Regions from separate parts of the Homo sapiens genome. Here regions 1 and 2 are each linked to region 3. Evidence: promoter capture Hi-C in 16 types of primary human blood cells and fetal thymus (Javierre and others, 2016). All regions are on one chromosome and are shown on one strand. The core of a region is centred on a gene start or on the middle of the fragment in contact, and the rest is flanking DNA. Distances in the headings are between cores, read along the strand shown. Region 1 has its middle 55 kb from the start of MYOT. Region 2 overlaps PKD2L2 (polycystin 2 like 2, transient receptor potential cation channel). Region 3 holds the start of MYOT (myotilin).

Region 1 (3,305 bases), core at 138-2,637, 55 kb after region 3:
CCCTTATCCAACCGGAAGTATTCTTCTTCTTCTGTCTTCAATTTATTGCATGATCACATTTATTGCATGGGTGGCTTCAGGAAGGATTTTAGGGATTCCTGGAAATAATCAGTCTTGAAATACTCCCCTCTTCTTCCTTCATCTAGGATGCTTCCTCTTCTCTCAATATATTCTCACTTATGGGTATAAAGGTAAGTTGAGTCCTCCTTTGATATTAACTCTGCCTTCAGTTACCCTTAACTTTCCTTTAGTCAGCTTTCAACCTAGCCTGAAGAGAAGCCTTTGGAACCCCTGTGTACATGTTGATGGGAATGTAAATTAGTACAGCCATTATGGAAAACAGTATGGAGGTTCCTCAAAAAATTAAAATTAGAACTACCATATGCTCCAGCAATACCATTCGTGGGTATATATCCAAAGGAATTGAAATCAGCATATCAGGGAGATATCTGTACTCTCATGTACGTTGCAGCATTATTCATAATAGCCAAGATATGGAATCAACCTAAATGTCCATCAATGGATGAATGGATAATGAAAAAATGTGACACACATACAGACACATACACAGATATATATACAATGGTATACTATTTGGCTTTTAAAAAGAAGGAAATCCTGTCATTTGCAACAGTATAGATGAACCTGGAGGACATTATGCTAAGTGAAATAAGCCGGGCACAGAAAGACAAATGCTACATGATCTTAGTTTTATGTGGAATCTTAAAAAGTCGAACTCATAGAAACAGAGAGTAGAATGGTGGTTACCAGGAGCTGAGGGGTGGTTGTGGAACTGGGGAGATACTGGTCAAAGTTTCCAAATTTCAGACAGAAGAAATGAGTACAAGAGATCTATTGTCTATCATGGTGACTGCAGTTAATAGCAATGTATTGGATTCTTGAAAATTGCTAAGAGAGTAGATCTTAAATGTTCTCACAACAGAAAGTGATAAGTATGTGAGATGATGGATATGTTAATTAGCTTGATTTAACCATTTCATAACATTATCCATATATCAAAACACATTGTTCACTGTAAATATATATAATTTTTGTCACCTATACTGTAATTTAAAAAAGTAAATTAAAAAAAGAAGGAAAGACTTCAAAACCAACACATTGAATTACTCCCCTGGTATATTGTAAATGCTTTAAAGCCTCAGCTTGGTTGTAAATTCTTTAAAGCTGTGTCTTGTACTTTTTCTATTCCAAATGCAGAGCTAAGTATATAGTAAGGGCTTAATATATTTTTCTTGATTTATTATTCTACAAAAAACAAAGCTTACAGGAAGAGAGATTGACTCTGTTTATTAGGCTGATGAACTATGCTGTTCAGGCAGAGAAGAAACTTAGGGGACTTGTTGCAAGAATGTTTTAGCATTTTCTCATTCAGCTCTGGTTTACTGGACAGACATATTCAGGATAGTTTACTAATTCTTTTAGGGCATAAACACTTATTCATTCCACTAATAGTCTTCTTTTCTAGAAGCTTTTAAAGATATGAGAAATTATTCTCAATCCAAAATGATTTGAGGTTGGGGGATAGGAGGTTTTTGGAGTGCTGGTTAGGGGAACCTGTTTCCAGGACTATCTGGCAAACATGAAAGTCCAGTCTCCACCCAAAGGACTATAAATCATGCTGCTATAAAGACACATGCACACGTATGTTTATTGCGGCATTATTCACAATAGCAAAGACTTGGAACCGACCCAAATGTCCAACAATGATAGACTGGATTAAGAAAATGTGGCACATATACACCATGGAATACTATGCAGCCATAAAAAATGATGAGTTCATGTCCTTTGTAGGGACATGGATGAAATTGGAAATCATCATTCTCAGTAAACTATCGCAAGAACAAAAAACCAAACACCGCATATTCTCACTCATAGGTGGGAATTGAACAGTGAGATCACATGGACACAGGAAGGGGAACATCACACTCTGGGGACTGCTGTGGGGTGGGGGGAGGGGGAAGGGATAGCATTGGGAGATATACCCTTCCCAATGCTCGCTAGATGACGAGTTAGTGGGTGCAGCGCACCAGCATGGCACATGTATACATACATATGTAACTAACCTGCACAATGTGCACATGTACCCTAAAACTTAAAGTATAATAATTAAAAAAAAAAAAAAAAAGAAAGTCCAGTCTCCTAAAAGGCTCATCTGGCAACTGGAGAGAGGGAGGTAAGACCTTATTTCATATACCAGCTTGTTCAACAATAGACCAAATTGATATGAATTATCCACAAACACTGCAAAAATAGAGGAAATAAAGGCTGATTTTCTGAAGTCTTTCCATGTTTCCTCTCATATAAAAGACTTTTACCCACAATACTTGGTTTATGTTTCCATTATACCTTCTTCTCGAAGTAGCTACTTATAGACTTGTGTTTGCCTACCTGTCAGAATGTAAGCCCCTTAAAGGTGAAGGCATGCATTAAAAATACATTTAATTCACTACTTTTTTGAGGTAAAAATAAACACAAGAAAGACTATTATTGATAGTTATACCATTTGCTCAAGAAAAGTTGAAAAGAAAAAACAAAACATCTTTATGGAAGGAAATTGCTCTTATCAAGGAAAGAATGCCATACTATTTAGTCATATACAGGAGATCTCTTCTGCATGTTCAGGGTGGAAGTCGGAATTAGAGGAGATTGGGTATATGTATGTGGGTGAGAGGAAGGAGGAATATTAGAATTTGATGCCCTTTCCTGCTTTTGGTGGTGTGTTAGTTTGTTCTGAGTTGCTATAAAGGAATACCTGAAGCTGGGTAATTTTTAAAGAAAAGAGGTTTATTTGGCCCATGGTTCTACAGGCTGTATAGGCATAGCACCAGCATCTGCTCAGCTTCTGGTGAGGCCTCAAGAAGCTTACAGTCATAGTGGAAGGTGAAGGGGGAGCTGGCATATGACATGGCAAGAGAGGAAGCAAGAGAGAGGAGGAGGTGCCAGACTCCTTAAACAACCAGTTCACCTGAACTAACAGAGCAAGAACTCACTCATCACCAAGGCAGTGGCACTAAGCCATTCATAAGGGATCTGCCCCCATGATCCAACACCTCCCATCAGGCCCCACCTTCAACACTGGGTATCACTTTCCAACATGAGATTTGGAGGAGACACACATCTAAACCACATCAAATTGTTTGATCAGAATCATTTTAGTAATGACAACTAGCATCATATTTCTTTTCTTTTCTTTTTGTTTTTGAGATGGAATCTCTCTCTGTTGCCCAGGCTGGAGTTCAGTGGCATGATCTCCACTCACTGCAACCTCTGCCTCCTCAGTTCAA
Region 2 (3,459 bases), core at 499-2,998, 52 kb before region 3:
TCTATAACTTTTTTTTTTTTTTCTTTGAGACAGTCAAACTCTGTCGCCCAGGCTAGAGTGCAGTGGTGCTATCTCGGCTCACTGCAACCTCTGTCTTCCAGGTTCAGGCAATACTCCTGCCTCAGACTCCCAAGTAGCTGGGATTACAGGTGTGCACCACCATGCCCAGCTACTTTTTTTGTATTTTTAGTAGAGACAGCCTCACCATGTTGGCCAGGCTGATCTCAAACTCCTGGCCTCAAGTGATCCGCCCACCTCGGCCTCCCAAAGTGCTGGGATTACAGGCATGAGCCACCACACCCAGCCCACCTATAACATTTGAACCTGAGATACCTGTTTACTAACTGGTTTTGGCAGTGGCCTCCTTGGCCGGCTGTGCCTGTGCCCTTCTAAACATTAGAACTTTGAATTGGTTCAACAAGTGATTTTTCAACTTGTAGAAGGTTTAGACCCAAGAGCCCTAAACTTTCTAATGTCAGTGAAGTGAATTTTTGTCTTAACCAACTCTTAAATTCTGATAAAATAGGGATGCCAACAATTTGTCACTTGCTAGTCTCAAGTGCTGATAATAATACTCAACATGATCCTAAGGTTTATTTTACCCTCTTTGTGATTTTTTTTTTTTTTTAGATGGAGTTTCGCTCTTGTCGCCCAGGCTGGAGTGCAATGGCACGATCTCGGCTCACCACAACCTCTGCCTCCCGGGTTCAAGCAATTCTCCTGCCTCAGCCTCCTGAGTAGCTGGGACTACAGGCGTGTGCCACCACGCCCAGCTAATTTTTGTATTTTTAGTAGAGATGGGGTTTCACCATCTTGTCCAGGCTGGTCTCGAACTCCTGACCTCATGATCCACCTGCCTTAACCTCCCAAAGTGCTGGGATTACAAGCATGAGCCACTGTGCCCGGCCCTATTTTACCCTCTTTGATAGCCTGGTTTGATATGAAATACCACTTAAAATATTTCAAACCTTCCTTTTTCTAATTTTAAAGATGAAAAATGAAGAAATTAAGACTTTGAGTAGCACAGTAGTAACAAGTAGAATTAGAATTTTCTAACTTGAAAATCTTATTTTATTTTCTCATTATTAACTTGCAGTGGTCTCACTGGACGTATCAGGAATATCAGTTTAAATTATGTGTGTGTGTTCTTTATGAGGAAATTTGGAAAAAAATTTTTTTTTGAGACGGTGTTTCACTCTTATCACGCAGACTGGAGTGCAGTGGTGGGATCTTGGCTCACTGCAATCTCCATCTTCCCGGTTCAAGCGATTCTCCTGCCTCATCAGCCTCTCTTGAGTAGCTGGGATGACAGGCACATGCCACCATGCCTGGCTAATTTTTGTATTTTTAGTAGAGACAGGATTTCACCACGTTGACCAGGTTGGTCTCAAATTCCTGACCTTAGGTGATCCACCCGCCTTGGGCTCCCAAAGTGCTGGAATTACAGGCGCGTGGAAACAAATGTTTAATCGTATGTTGATAACTGCGTAATTGGTCAGTGAAAAGGGAGAAAGCCTGCTTGTCCCTTATTGCTTTTGCCAATCACATAAAAGGAGCAAAAAGCTTTAATGAAGGAAGAAAAAGCATTCAAAGAAATGGGCTACATGAAGTCCTAGGACTCAGAGTTATCTGAGATTCCATCCACGGTACCTAGCTGAGACCTGACCAAATCATACCTAAAGTATTTATCTTGCTTTTAATACTGGTTTGTAATGCTTTCCTACATAAGATAGAGAAAATACTGAATTGGAAGGAATTGGTGGAAAGTCTCACCACAAATCAAATATTTTTTCTGGCATAGGAGAATAAGAGGTTCTGTTTTAGTGTTTCTGCCATGATCTTTCATCTTTGAGTTGGGGAAAAAAAAAAAGATGAAGGAACCATTCTCATTCTTTTCTCCTCTCCAGATGTTAGCTTAGTAACCAAAGCTTCCATTCAGCCCTTTTCTGTTAGGAAAGTGTTAAGATACTTCTGCTCTGTAATAGGGAGAATGACAAAAACTGAAGCATTTACTGAATGGTTAGAATCTCATCGAAACTGGAGGCTCCAAATACAGTGTCTCTTTTCTTAATTAGAGCTTAGTTTATCCATTTTGTTTCTTTTTTGCAAGCTAAAAGCACCATGACGCCTCAACATACAGGGTTATATTGAATGAAAATACTGTTTTGTAACTTTTTGATGGCCCTGTTAACTTTAGATAGAGTTCTCCCTTATTGAATTAAAATAACTAAAAGTATGTTTCAAAAGAACATGCCATTTGTCATTAATAAGACTTTCCAGTCTCTCTCTTGAAGTCATTGATTGGGTCACTACAAGAGATTCATCTTTAACTTGAGGGTGTAGCAATTCAGGCTCCCTGCTTGATGTATAGAAAGGTGACTAGATGGTCCTCTCCCTACACACACACACACACACTCACACACACACACACACACACACATTGTGCAGGCCCTGGACCTTGCCTCTGTCTCCTTCCTGAGAGATGGCCAGCAACACAGTTTCTCAACTATTTCGTCTGGATCAGGAAAAAAAAAAAAAAAGATTCTTGGAAGGTGGAAGAGAACCATGGGAAACTTATTTCTCCCCTGTCCCCATCTAGACAACAATTACATGGGCAGAATCTGTCAGATGTACTACTTTGGAACTCTAGAGTCTATTGAAGAAGGCCTGCAACTTCCAGGGAAAGGCTTGGACAGTAAATTGCTGTTAATTTTGGACAATTTCAGCTTTTATCTCAATAGCTATGCATCCCCTACTCATTAGCCTCATGGCTGGGATCCATGCACATGTTTGTGAAGCAGCTTGCATGTAGCTTATGGGAGCCATGTGGGGAATAAATACTATGTCTTTCAAATATTGGGGATCTATGTGGTGATTGCTGATTGCTGCTTCTGATCGTGGGGATGCAGACACTGAGGTGGGCAGCCATTGTTGCATCTCCTCCATTGTTGCAAGACCATCGTCCTTCAGCTGAAGTAATGTCCTTGGGATTTAAAGGGCTGTTATCTTCCCCTACCTCTCACTTTATTCTTCTCTTTTCCTTTTTTGGGATCCAGACATTAAAGAATAGGACATTCAAAACCAACTCCATATCAAGGGTAAGTTAAAAAGTCATTGTGCATGCCCAGGGAAAGGCATAGGCTGAGGAAAACCTGAGAAGACCTTAAGTGCACAACTCAGGGTGATCCTTGGCATGGAGCCAGACTATAAAAATAAAAAATAAGAACAAAAAATGGCAAACCCTGGGCAAGGGGAAGAATCTGATTTTCAAAATTATCACATTATTAGATTCAAATGTCTGGTTTGAATTTTTATTATTTTTTATTTTTTGTACAGACATGGTCTCCCTTAGTTTCCCAGACTGGTCTCAAACTGCTGGGCCCAAGTGATCCACTTGCCTTGGCCTCCCAAACTGCTAGGAGGCTCCCAAAGTGCAATGGCTCCAAAATGTGAGCCACC
Region 3 (3,760 bases), core at 588-3,087:
TTTTGTTTTTTGGTCTTTTTTTTCTTTTTTTTGCCACACCTTTGGAGATCTCAGACTAATTTTGAAATTGCTTTAGCTCTTTTACTTTTTCTTTTCAAATGGCAAACAGGAAGCATAGAAGTAAATAAGACACATATGAAACTAGTCTATACCTTACCAAGAAAAGACAGGTGCCATTCCTCCTACTTAGCTCTGTAGTGGGCCTCCTGCCTTCCTACAGTACATCCTCATTTTTTCTCAGATGAAACATTTGCCATGAAAATCAACCTTGAAGGATTATATTTGTCTCTGATTTTTTTTCCATTAGTATGGTAAACCTAAGCGGGACTATATATAGACATTACACACAAAGACTAGTCCTATAAATTGTTTTCACACTAATCCTGTTTTCATTGAAAATATCAGATAAATTGATTCAAAATACATTTGCCTATTTTGTTTCATCTGGTATAAGCCAATACTGAGATAATGACAAATCAAACTTTTAACTGAAAAATTAACCAAATTGTTTGTCATCATTGAAACGAAGTCTTCTAATTATTTTAGTTACTGTCTTGGATAAAATGTTAATAAAACTTTTCCAGACCAAAGAGTTTCATCCTAAATAATAGGATACCTTCAAAAAATAGTATTTCAAAGTTGCCTATGTAGTTTAGAGTTAAATTAAAACTAGCAATTTTAGGAAAAAACAGAAATGCAACTAAACAGCCAAGAGAAAGACGCTATTGAGAAAGAATACTTAAAAAGTTAAATATTCCTTAATTTCAAGTTTATGAACACAAATACATTAAACTAGAATGCATTTTAGAAATGAACTACTTTAGGCATTTAAATTGTTGGGGAAAAACATCCTGAAGGAGGGCCTTGAGTAGATCTAAAAAAAAAGTCTATTTCAAGGCAAGTAGTTTTGTAGTTATCGGTTTATTCAGTCTGTTGCAGAATTGAATCCAGAGTTTGATTCCTAAATTTCTTTCTGGGCAGGTACATTATTGAGACTCATTTCAGATAGCAAGGAATAAACCGCTTATGAAATAGTAGATATTTTCCAGAAACAGTTCTCTTTTTTTCTTTACATATATTTTCAGAATGGCAACTGTCTTGTACATGTTGATATTGGCCTACATTGTTAATAATTAGTGATATTTTTAAAAGCCCAATTAAAAATATGTTATTTCATAAGTTTCATTTTATCCATGTGTCAAAATTTTATGCAGACATTTACGCAGGTGATCCTGTATTTTCTTTATGTTTGTAGTTACTGTTCAACAATTTAATTCTATAATAGATTCTGTTATATGACAGGGTCATTTTATTCCAAATAATGTTAAATGAATTTCAAAGATTTTTATAAATAAAGTACTATTCAGTCTCCTTTTTAAAAAATCTTAACATTTTTTTCCTGTCTCTAATATAGCATAGACTTGCACAGAAGACTGATAGAGGATATGTTGCGTTCATAAGACATCACCACAATTACATCAGATCAAGTGTCCCTTTTCAAGGAAAAATGGTGATTTAAAAATAATGACACACAGCTATCTTTCCTTCTATCATTTGTATAATGCCTTCCAGTCTCAATGAAATGAATGAGTCGCTTTCTCTTTAAATTTTTGTGTAATACCATTATAATGTTGTGGCTTTCAAACTTTTTATCTGAAAATCATCTTTGTATACACTCATCTGATTTGGACAAAAAACAAAAACAAGACCTAAAAGTGTAGTAGGAATAAAGAAGGGACTTACCCGTAGTTCCAGAGGGTGCCAGCTGGGTTTAACCCACTATTGAAGGGAAGGAAGAGGCATCTCCTTCCCTCACAGACTAATCTAGTGGCTCTGTGCTTAGTATTATAGCACCACTGACTTTTATCAGCTGCCAAACAGTGACATCTGATGTGCTTGCCTGTCCATCTACCTATGCTGGCATGTCAAAGTAAGAGTCCACAATCTAAACAATATCTCACGTGTCTTAGTGGTATTTAAGGAGTGGGATTACATGAGCTTCTTTTGCAAGCCTCTTTATTTCAGACGTGAATTTTGACTATGAACTTTAGCAAGCTCATGTGAGGGAAGGGCAGTGAATAGGGAAATGGGAAAAATAGAAAAAAAACCCTCTTATTTCTTTATTATGGTGGGGACTTTGAATTTTCCCAGTTTAAGAGAGAGGACTAAAGGGAAAATAATATTTCAAGAGTGGAGTTCTTCTATCTATTATACTAAGACTTCTCCAGGAATAAGACCAGTGATAGATGGGCTCCCAATTGATTTGTATTGCATAATTCTTCATCTGAAGTCTTTTTTCTTTTGCCTAATGAGAGTAGGATTCAATAATAGATTTGAGGTCTCTCAGTACTAGCAGTTTGTTCCGAGGTGGAGGGCAGTCTGGGCAAAGCAGGAGACCGAGGTCATAGTGACATGTCACTGGGAAGGTAGGGAGGTGGAAAAACATGATGGTGTTTCTTGAGCAAGTTTTCTGAATCTGTATGGCATATGCCCCTTTTGCCTAGTACTTTTATTCTGAAAGAGTTTTGAAACACTTAAGAAACAACCAAACAAATAAGCAATCTATATAATTAGAGCTGTCAATGCATGTTCATCTCCCTTTATTCCTAACAGTTAGTTTCCTTTCACTTTTTGTCACAGAGACCATCATGGTATTTAGATTTCCATTTTTGTGCAGGGAAGTAAATAATTGCAGAAGAATAAAATGTCGAATCAGCAAATGTGGTGAAGTAGGGTAGGTGGCATGAGGATTGGGCCAAGGGAGTAGAATTATCTCCATGGGGTGGCTTCAGTTCCCCTCCCTCATGGGTAGATACCCCAATCTTGATTGAATTAACATGTATATTAGAATCCAGCAAATAGATGTTTGAGCACATATGAGCCATATAAAATCCTTCACAGCTGGCCAAGTAGGTGTACCTTTCTTTGGTGTTCAAAGAAAGCTTGATAATTTCTGCCTGGGCGTGCAGCCCTTAGTAGAAAAAGCATGCTAGACTTGGTGAGTAGGTGGTTGCCTACAAAGTCTTATTTCAGGAGTCTCCCAAAATATTCTTCAACATCTGTTCACTGATATTTCAAATTCCAGTAATACAGACAAAACCTTTCCATCTAAATTAGAGAGACTTAAAATACAAATGCAAGTGATAGGATAAAAGTAATAATAGCCAATATATAGCATTTATTATGAGTAAGACACTCCTTCAAGCATTTTATTTTATTATTAGTTTTTTTTTAGAGACAGGGTCTTACTCTGTCACCCAGGCTGGAGTGCAGTGATATGATCAGAACTCACTGCAGCCTCAAACTCCTGGGCTCAAGAGATCCTTCCTCTGCAGACTTTCAAGTAGCTAGGGCTATAGGCATGCAGCACTATACCCAGCTAATTTTAAAATTTTTTGGACAGACAGAGTTTCGCTATGTTGCCCAAGCTGGTCTCAAACTCCTTGCCTCAAGCGATCCTCCACGTCGGCTTCTCAAAGCACTGGAATTATAGGCATAAACCACATGCCCAGCCTATCTATTCTAAGCAATTTTAAATGTGGTATATGTGACTGACATTTGGTTCTGCTGGAGAACAGGGTTTGATTAGGGCATGGAAAAGGAAATAATAGATTTGAGGTCTCTCTGCACTAAAAGTTTGAGGTATACCTCACCAGCCAAGTAGGGAAGACATCCAGGACAACCTGCTAAATTCCCAATTTTGCCTACAGCAGGTTCTAAGCATACTACACTCGAGGAAGAATTTAGTTCTGCTTACTCT

Evidence for each region. Contacts are between HindIII fragments. The CHiCAGO score rates a contact against its expected background, and 5 or more counts as called.
Region 1: a contact is called between a fragment that was not itself captured here and the fragment with the promoter of MYOT in region 3, in 3 of 17 cell types (M1 macrophages, M2 macrophages and naive B cells). The highest score is 6.4, in M1 macrophages.
Region 2: a fragment that was not itself captured here is called in contact with the fragment with the promoter of MYOT in region 3 in 1 of 17 cell types (naive B cells); the score reaches 5.1 in naive B cells.

What each region holds. Positions count from the first base shown.
Region 1 is chr5:137,811,219-137,814,523 of GRCh38, reverse strand. No RefSeq gene overlaps it. Among named protein-coding and RNA genes, the nearest start is that of MYOT, 55 kb to the left of the region's middle. The HindIII fragment of the contact is 208 bases long and covers 1,284-1,491 here.
Region 2 is chr5:137,917,926-137,921,384 of GRCh38, reverse strand. All of the region lies in intron 8 of PKD2L2 (polycystin 2 like 2, transient receptor potential cation channel), which reads right to left. Among named protein-coding and RNA genes, the nearest start is that of PKD2L2, 30 kb to the right of the region's middle. The HindIII fragment of the contact is 365 bases long and covers 1,566-1,930 here.
Region 3 is chr5:137,865,937-137,869,696 of GRCh38, reverse strand. It overlaps MYOT (myotilin), which reads right to left and starts at 1,837. Exons shown (of 10, transcript NM_006790.3): 1 at 1,744-1,837. All of the region lies in intron 2 of PKD2L2-DT (PKD2L2 divergent transcript), which reads left to right. The HindIII fragment of the contact is 5,979 bases long and covers 1-2,944 here.